Regions from separate parts of the Homo sapiens genome. Here region 1 is linked to region 2. The links are contacts of gene promoters, found by promoter capture Hi-C in human tissues and cell types (Jung and others, 2019). All regions are on one chromosome and are shown on one strand. Each heading gives the region's core, a stretch centred on a gene start or on the middle of the fragment in contact. The rest is flanking DNA. Distances are from core to core; before and after follow the strand shown.

Region 1 (4,534 bases), core at 44-2,543, 990 kb before region 2:
ACCCTCAGTATAACCCAGGTGAACTCCTGAAGCTCCCTCCAGGACAATTTCCTCTCCCCTAGGGTCCCTTAACCATGTGACAACTTGATTTCATTTAGTTACCACCATCCCACAGATTAAATTTTGTTCTTCTAATGGTTGACGATGTATTCTCATTGAGGTAGGTCTTTCACCTGTAAACAAGCAACAGCTATGGTGGTGGCCAAAATGCTGCTTGAGAAAAACCATTCCTATCTAGGGTGTTCCCACTGAATTCCACAGCGACAGAGGCACTCATTTTACCTGCCAAATACTAGAACAAGTTTTTTAAATCTGCCCTTTTACAGCACTTTCACTGTGCCTATTACCCCCAGTCCTCTGGGCTAGTTGAACAGTCTAATGGGATCATTGAAAGCGAGCTGGCGAAAGTTACAGAAACTTAACCTGTCCTTGCCTAAAGCTCTCCCATTAGCATTACTGATTCTGCAGTCCATTCCCACCAGTAAATGTCAGCTCTCCCCTTTTGAAATTGTTACTGGTTGGTCTGTGCACTTAGACCAGGAAATATTTTCTCCTGCCAAATGACAGGAGGGAACTTTAGGCTTATTGCCAGGGGCTTGTTAAAGCTATAAAGATCAGTCACTGCAAGTTGTAGAATCTTTTTACAGCTTCCCAACAGGCCATAAACTCCAGTATTACCACCTCCAGCTTGGTGATGACAAGTAGTGGAAGAGACATCAGTTAAAATACTTCATCCAGCCTACTGGATGGGTGCTATTAATTAATCCTTGTGCTGCTAAGTTATAGAGATTGACTCCTGGTCGCACATGTCTCATCTGAAAACAACAACCCTTGCTGAATCTTGGAAGTTGGTGCCAGTCTCTACACGAGACTTCAGTTAACCAGAGCCTCATCTTTAGACCCAGAAAAAGGCAATAGTCAACATAAACTGCTTTCATGAGACCCAGGGCCAGGACTGTATTCAAAGACACTGGGTCTCATTTAATAATTTGCCTCTATCTAAACTAATAGAATTTGTTCCATGCCTTTCTGCTAGATAACTTCGATGTTTAGCTACCTGTGTGCTTCCTCTTCTTGTCTTTATCAGAACTGAGCAGGGCTTATGACCCCCACTCCTGAGGACATCATTGCTTTGTTCCTGTAGTGAGATGTTCTCTTACTTAAGGACAGTCCCTTAAGTTTGTCAGATAATCCCCTTGGATTTGTATGGGATTTATGGTTTTTCCCTTGGTTCAGTTTTCTGAATTGTTAAATGGCTGTTCCCTCCATTCCTTTTACTCATACCTGCACTGTCACCTTTCCCTCTCTTTGCAATTGTCCCTCTGTCTTGTCTCAATGCAGAGAATGGCATGATAACACTTTAGTTAAGCTGTCCCACATGTTGCTAGTAGAAGGAAACCTATTGGATTGCTGGATTTGCCAACAACTTCCTTGATCCATTCATAATAGATATGTGCCATTGGTAATATCTGTCACTGACTGCTCAGATGTCCCTAATGTCACCACTTACCCAGACCAACCCCTTTCCCTGTTGATTTTCCAGGTCCAATTCCTTCAAAGCCCAGATATTGTCACCCCTTGTTTTGATGTGTCCTGTGTTTTTAACATTGGAAACCCATTCTTTACCATGGGACCTTCTTTGTTGTTGTTGTTCTTTGGGTTTTTTATGGTTTTTTTTTGAGACTGAGTCTTGGCCTGTTACCCAGGCTGGAGTGCAGTGGTGAGATCTCAGCTCACTATAACCTCCGCCTCCCGGGTTCAAGCGATTCTCCTGCCTCAGCATCCCAAGAGCTGGGATTACAGGCACCTGCCACCATGCCCAACTAATTTTTGTATTTTTAGTAGAGACTGGATTTCACTGTGTTGGCCAGGCTGGTCTTAAACTCCTGACCTCAAGTAATCCACCTGCCTTGGCCTCCCAGAGTGCTGGGATTACAGACATGAGCCACTGCACCCGGCCTACCATGGGACCTTCTTGACCTATGAACTACTGGATAGACAAGTGTCATCTACATCAGATAAATAAAGTTAAAAATATATCCCTACAGTGCCCACAATATTTACATTTAAAATAAGTGAGTGGATTCTGGAAAGCTTGCAAGAGAAATGGCCCATAGTTTAGTTTGGTGATGTCAGCACTCCGCATGAATACATCTGCTAATTAAGACATCCTCAGGAGTATCACTTGTGCCCCCCATTCAGGCTGTGTGTTTGTATGTGGCATAAGGTCTGATCCACCTGCACAGCTTTGGGCACACTGTTGCCTCGGCAGCCTACAGTTAGAAGGTTCATGCTTGCTGAGATATTTTGTAACCCCCCGTATCCTTACACAAACTTACAGAAGGACCCCCTTTCTCTCCATTATTAAACTAAAAGGTCTGTGTTGGCAGGGTGTGAAGGTGATACAGATCAAAGCATCCTGGGAATATTAATTCCGAGTGTTGGGATTTATGTCAATAAGGATATGATTTGAAAAGTCTTTGCCACTATTAGTCACATTGTTGCGGGATTTAGGAGTATGAGAGACCTCGGGTTGAAACAGGAGAATCTTTTATTGAGTGCACTCAGGCCCAGCAGACTCAGGTCCAAAGACTGAGCCCGAAACAAAGACAGCACTTGACTTTTATACACACTTCACAAAAGGGTGTGGGCTAGCTTGAAGCAAGCTTACAGTGGTGTGAAAGCAGGGATACAGAGGCAGGACAGACTCAGGATTGCTCATGACCATTGCCAAGCAACCCAGGTGTCCGTTATCTAGGTTTGCCTAGGCACGGGCTTATCCCATAACCTTCACTGTGGGGCCCAGGCAGCTGTAGTTCAGGCCTACTCAGGCTTCTCGTGACCTTTGTTGTACTTCTTAGATAAAACAGAATACTTGAAGTTACTAGTTACAGAGAACAAGAATCTATAAACTCATACCATAAAGCAAAGGAAAATTTGTTTTTCTTCTCCTTATGTTGAGGGAGTGCTGGGAGAGTCTCCACAGCACATTAGATACCATTATCAAGACTTTTCCTGGGTCTGGGTTGTGCCTGTTGCCGCCTCTGGGACAAGTCAGTCTAATACAGGAAAACTTATTTCTCTATCTTTTTAATTTTATTTTTCTTTAATTTCCCACCTCAAGATAGCTGCAGACACTGCAAAAAGCCTTGTAGCTCAACAAAAGTCTCTAAACTCCTTGGCTCAAGTAGTACTAGATAATAAAGTTGCCGTAGATTTTCTCCTAGCCAAACAAGGAGTTGTTTGGCCCATACCTCCTGTTACATAAGTACTTCAGGTGAAATAGAAACTGTTAGAGGCCGGGCGCAGTGGCTCACCCCTGTGATCCCAGCACTCTGGGAGGCCGAGGCGGGAGGATCACAAGGTCAGGAGATCGAGACCATCCTGGCTAACATGGTGAAACCCCGTCTCTACTAAAAATACAAAAAATTAGCCGGGTGTGGCGGCAGGCGCCTGTAGTCTCAGCTACTTGGGAGGCCGAGGCAGGGGAATGGCGTGAACCTGGGAGGTGGAGCTTGCAGTGAGCCGAGATGGCACCACTGTACTCCAGCCTGGGTGACAGAGCGAGACTCCATCTCAAAAAAAAAAGACACTGTTAGAGAAAGACTATCCAAACAACCTTAAATGGTTACAAGAGCTATGAACTACTAATCCTCTCAATGATCTATTTAGTTGGCTTCCAACTGGCCTGGGAAATCCCTTTCAAACTGCTAAGTGTTTGTCATATTCATAGTCTCCATCATACTTTCTTTCTTAACATTTAAATTACTTATAATAGGACTGCAAGAAGTCCCCTGTTAAAACCAGAATTATGATGGCTCAGTGCGTAGAACTTACAGGCAAGTTAATTTTGTAGCCATTCCTTTTGGCTCTTATATCTCTTATACCTTACGGGTTAGTGAGGGCCTGCCATCTCTCTATTCCTGGTTGATCTAGGATGTCCAATTGGCTATCGTAGGGATGGATCTGGGACAGATAGCCACACCACCCTGGCAATGACATGGGACAAAATAAAGATTTGGCTATTGGTGCTGCTTGCAGCAGATCGTGGCTAAAATGGGGAAACATGAAATAAAAGTAAATTTCTAAGCACCCCCCTGCCCCACCCGACTGACTGAATGGACACTACCTTGGCCAAGGAGACCCCAGAAAAACTCTGAAAGCTAAGTTTTCCAGCCATGATTAGATGAGAGTTTGGTCACACCTCAGTACACCCCCTTCCTCACTAACCGATACCAGACTTTTTTTGTAAGCGTTAAATAGAAACCAGCCCTGGAACAGAAACAAGACTCACTCCTCTGCTGACTTCAGCCAACCACCTGACACCACAGCCAGACTCCCCTCCTTTTTTGTGGTTTTGACATGACAGCTGACCAGTTTCACCGCGCATTCCTTCCTGACAAGTGACCACCAGTCACAGACTAGTTCTGGCTGGTTTACTCAGGCTGTGCACCTTTTGACATATAAAGCTTAATTTTACTGCATTTTAATGTTAAGTCTCCACCCCAAAGTGAACATGGGGTTTGTGTAACAT
Region 2 (4,218 bases), core at 508-3,007:
TGGTGGCTCACGCCTGTAATCCCAACACTTTGGGAGGCCAAGGAAGGAGGATCACTTGAGCCCAGGAGTTTAAGACTAGCCTGGGCAAGATAGCAAAACCCTATCTCTACAAAAAATATAAAAAATTAGCCTGGTGCAGTGGTGAGTGCCTGTAGTCTCAGCTACTGGAGACTGGGGCCGAGGTGGGAGGATGGCTTGAGCTGGGGAGGCTGAGGCTACAGTGAGCCATGATCACTCACTCTAGCCTGAGTGACACAATGAGACCCTGTCTCAAAAATAATAATAATAATAATCACATCCCTTAATTATGCAGATACCAATTCCCTCCAACAGAGACCAGACCCAACACTGCCTCATTTGTTAGCACCATCACAGTGTTTAACATTTGTTTGGGACTTCTTCAATGTTTTTACAAGCTTTTTTTTTACTATTACTACACTAATAAATTATTTACGGTGGGAAATCTAAATCAGAAAGCTCTGGCTTCTTGAAAACAAACTTTATTAAAAACGTCTTCCCAGTCCAACATGTAGCCTCATAGGGCACACACAATTTCTTTGCCTGAGCCTTAAAGATTACACCGAGTCAGTGGACTAGATGATATTGATGGCTGCAGAGAAAGAAGAATGGAAGAATGAAGTTTGAAGCTAATGCTTGAGTATGGGATTTTTACTCTGCTGCTGCTGTCCTGTGCAAACTAATTGCCAAATAGACCAGGCTGTAAAGCATCATAACTAGAGGTGATGAAGGGCAAGAAGCCACCCTCATGCCAGCAGCCTCCCGTATCCATTCACTTATTCACACAAATAGTTGTTGAAGGCCTGCACTGGGCCTGGCAGGGTGCAGGGGCTGAAATGCCTCCGGAACAAGACAGACCAGCTCTCATGGAGTTCCCACTGCAGACAGGGGTAGATTGTTGTAACAACAGCAAAAAGTAAAAGCAAACAGGGTAGTTTCAGATTGTACTGTAGCATTGGCCCTGGGTACATCATTTAACCCGTCTCTTAGAGGGTTCGGGTAGGATAGGGGCGCTGTTCTTTTTCTCCACTCCCAACCTGCGGGAGCCAGATACCTCCCAGGGCTTCCTCTCCTTCCCCTCCTTTGCTGCCCCAGGGGCAGGTCTGAAGGAGGACTGGTTAGTGACAGCTAAGGGGCCCGGAGGGCTGGGAGGCTGTCCCTCCTCCCCGCTCCAACCCCCGCGCGCTAGGGCGGGGTTGGGGCAGTGAGCGAGGTCAGGAGGCTGCGCCCCCTACTCCCCGCCCGGCGGGCGCGGTGCCGGCCCCAGCTCTGCGGACGGCCCGGGAGGCTGATCTGGCTGCGGAGGTCGATCCTGATAGCTCGGGGGCAGGAGGGGGGCTGGCCCTGCTCCTCACGCCCACCCCGCAGGGACCCAGACGCCCCTCCGGCCCCCTCCCTGCACCCCGTCAGCCCGGGAGCTGCAGGAGACCGGGGCGCATCTTTCCAAGCGCCGGGCCTCGCTCTGGGACAACGGTGTCCTGGGGGCGGGGAGGGCGCGCGGAGGTGCCAGGGGCGGCGGGGTACCCGGCCCGGCAGCACCGCTTCAAGTTTCCACCGGCGCGGTTGTGCAACCGGGAGGGGAGCGTGAGCCGCAGGCGCCTCGGAAAACAAGCCGAGCCCATAAACAAAGCCACGTGGCCTCCGGGCCGGGGGGCCGGGCTAAGAGCGGGCGGCTCTTCCGGCAACAAAGAGCTGCGGCCGGCTGCGGGGATAAATACTGCGGCAGCTACTGCCGCGCAGCACTCCCGGAGCCTGCAACGCTTGAGATCCTCTCCGCGCCCGCCACCCCGCAGGGTGCCCCGCGCCGTTCCCGCCGCCCCGCCGCCCCCGTCGCGGGCCCCTGCACCCCGAGCATCCGCCCCGGGTGGCACGTCCCCGAGCCCACCAGGCCGGCCCCGTCTCCCCATCCGTCTAGTCCGCTCGCGGTGCCATGCCATTCCTCGGGCAGGACTGGCGGTCCCCCGGGCAGAACTGGGTGAAGACGGCCGACGGCTGGAAGCGCTTCCTGGATGAGAAGAGCGGCAGTTTCGTGAGCGACCTCAGCAGGTGAGGGGACCCGCTACCAACTTCCAGCCCCCGCGAAACTGACCCGGGCTGGTCTGGGGGGCGCAGGGACGGCGAATGAGGGGCAGGCAGGGCTGGAGCGGGCTGAGGAGGGAGACCCTGACCCGGAGGGTGGGACTACGGGGCCCGATTTCTGCAGAGGTCTTCGGACCACCGGAGACAGGGAATTCGGTTTCTCTTATTGTTCAAGGTCAGTGTCTCCAAGTGGACACGACTCCTTACAGAACACCTGGTCCCTCTGAGAGTCTGATGACATTCGCGGATCGTGTCCCCAAACGTTCGCTCAAACTTAATCACACAGCTTTAGTGGTCCCTGCTTTAAGGACACCGGAGTCGCGCACTTTGCCCATGTGGGGGCGCGGGCGGGTGGGCTGAGCCCCTTCACCGCGGGGTGGCCCGGCTCCCAGCGCCCAAGCGCTGTGGACGCGACAGGTGACGGGATCCGACGAAGGTCCCGCCTGGAGCGCTTCCAGGCCCTGCCCAGGCACGGGCAACCACGAAGTGGCCGGGAGGATGAGTAACCAGGAAGGGACGGCCAGATGGTCCCTGGGGCAGCCGCTTACTGGGCGGACTTGCGAGCGGTGGAGGCTTGGGGCTGCAGAGGTGCAAAGGAGGGAAGGGGGCAGGGGATGAATCCCACAAGAGCTCTGCTTCTGGGAGGACAGGGCTCTTGCACCTGTTTCCTCGGTGGCCCTCTCGGTCGGTCTGCTTTGTATAGAGTGCACTCCGTTTCCAGGGGTGCCTGTCAGCTGCGAAAAGCCTGCCTGGCCCCGGTGAGCCTCTGGATTCGAGGCCTCACCTGAGCTCTGTGGTCTGGCGGGAAACCTGAGGTCCGCTGCGCTCCCTGCTCAGCTTGGCTAACGATGCCAGCGCCGGCTAGTACGCAAGGTAGCCTGGAATTTCTCAGCCCCTGACCTCGACAGTTGACTTTCAGAGACTCTCAGCATTTAGCCCGGTGAGCGGGGGCGATGAAAGTGATTCCAGAATGGACTGGTGCAGCCAGAGTCACCCTTGGGAGCCTTTTCCTGCCACCTTTGGTTAAAACCATGGGCCCCTGCACCCTTAAATTGACTTCAATGGAGAATTCTGTTTCTGGGCCAGGTTCCCGCTTACTGAGATTTACCAGTCGTTGCTTGGATGAAGCATTGGCAATAAATTTTGAGAAAACTATCAAGAAAATGTGGTTATTTTGGCAACTTGAACTCCCGTGCCTCCCATTTGTTTGTGATTTGTAATGCATCAAATTCCCATTGTCTCACAATGTAAAGAAAGACATTATTTAATTCTGGGGGTCTGTCCGGAGAGACTTGAGCGTATTAACCACCAGCATATAACCATTTACGTTGGAGTTACTTGGAGGCTGTCCCAGGGGAGTTTAGGGACCACCATAAGGAAATCTTATTTACGTAAAATCAAGTAATTTATTTACGGGAAAGTAAGACCAACTGCTATTGACAGACTATGTCTTTTATCGACTGGAGTTACCAATTATGCCTAAATTATTCTCCCTCAACAAAATGGGAACCTTCCTTCCTTCCTCCTTGTTCCTAAGGACAATGATCTAATATGTTGGTACTTTATTTCTGTATACAAGTTCAGGTTCTTTCTAGAAAAGTGCCGAAAGGGTCTGAAGAGTCATGTTAGAGCTGCTCACCCAAATATAATTGCAGGATGCTCCTCAGTGGAGAACAGATGATTGAGTTCAGCAGAAGATTTAAAATGTAGGGTCGTATTAATACTTACCCTACTCGGGAGGCTGAGGTGGGAGGATGGCTTGTGCTCAGAAGTTCAAGGCTGCAGCGAGTCATGACTGTGCCACTGCGCTCCAGCCTGGGCCACAGAGCGAGACCCTGTCTCTAAAAATAAATAAAAATTTAAAATTTGTTTTAAAATACCCTATACCGGCATCAGGAGAGAAACTGGTGTCACTCTCCTTTAGAAATAGTGGTATCTCTGTCTTCACAGTATGGAAGACCTGAAGATGGTCTTAACTTACCACAAAAGTTTAGACTGGGCTGGAATCAGGTGGTTTCCTGCACAGCCCCCCTCCCGTGTCCTGTTCATGAGCCTCTTTTTCTTCCCATTTCACACCTGAGCTGGAGCTGTCACATCCATCATCATTACCGCAAATAGTCA

Evidence for each region. The method cuts DNA at HindIII sites, captures the fragments that hold promoters and counts their contacts. A contact is called where the count stands out against the background at its distance.
Region 1: a contact is called between a fragment that was not itself captured here and the fragment with the promoter of FBXO32 in region 2, in 1 of the 25 tissues and cell types used here (dorsolateral prefrontal cortex).

The regions. Positions count from the first base shown.
Region 1 is chr8:124,527,236-124,531,769 of GRCh38, reverse strand. All of the region lies in intron 1 of TATDN1 (TatD DNase domain containing 1), which reads left to right. Among named protein-coding and RNA genes, the nearest start is that of TATDN1, 9.6 kb to the left of the region's middle. RefSeq lists enhancers at 3,491-3,540, 4,281-4,450. The HindIII fragment of the contact is 4,550 bases long and covers 1-3,568 here.
Region 2 is chr8:123,538,745-123,542,962 of GRCh38, reverse strand. FBXO32 (F-box protein 32) reads left to right here and starts at 1,757. Exons shown (of 9, transcript NM_058229.4): 1 at 1,757-2,064. The coding sequence starts at 1,949. RefSeq lists silencers at 1,231-1,520, 1,611-1,720, 1,771-1,860. The HindIII fragment of the contact is 9,982 bases long and covers 1-4,218 here.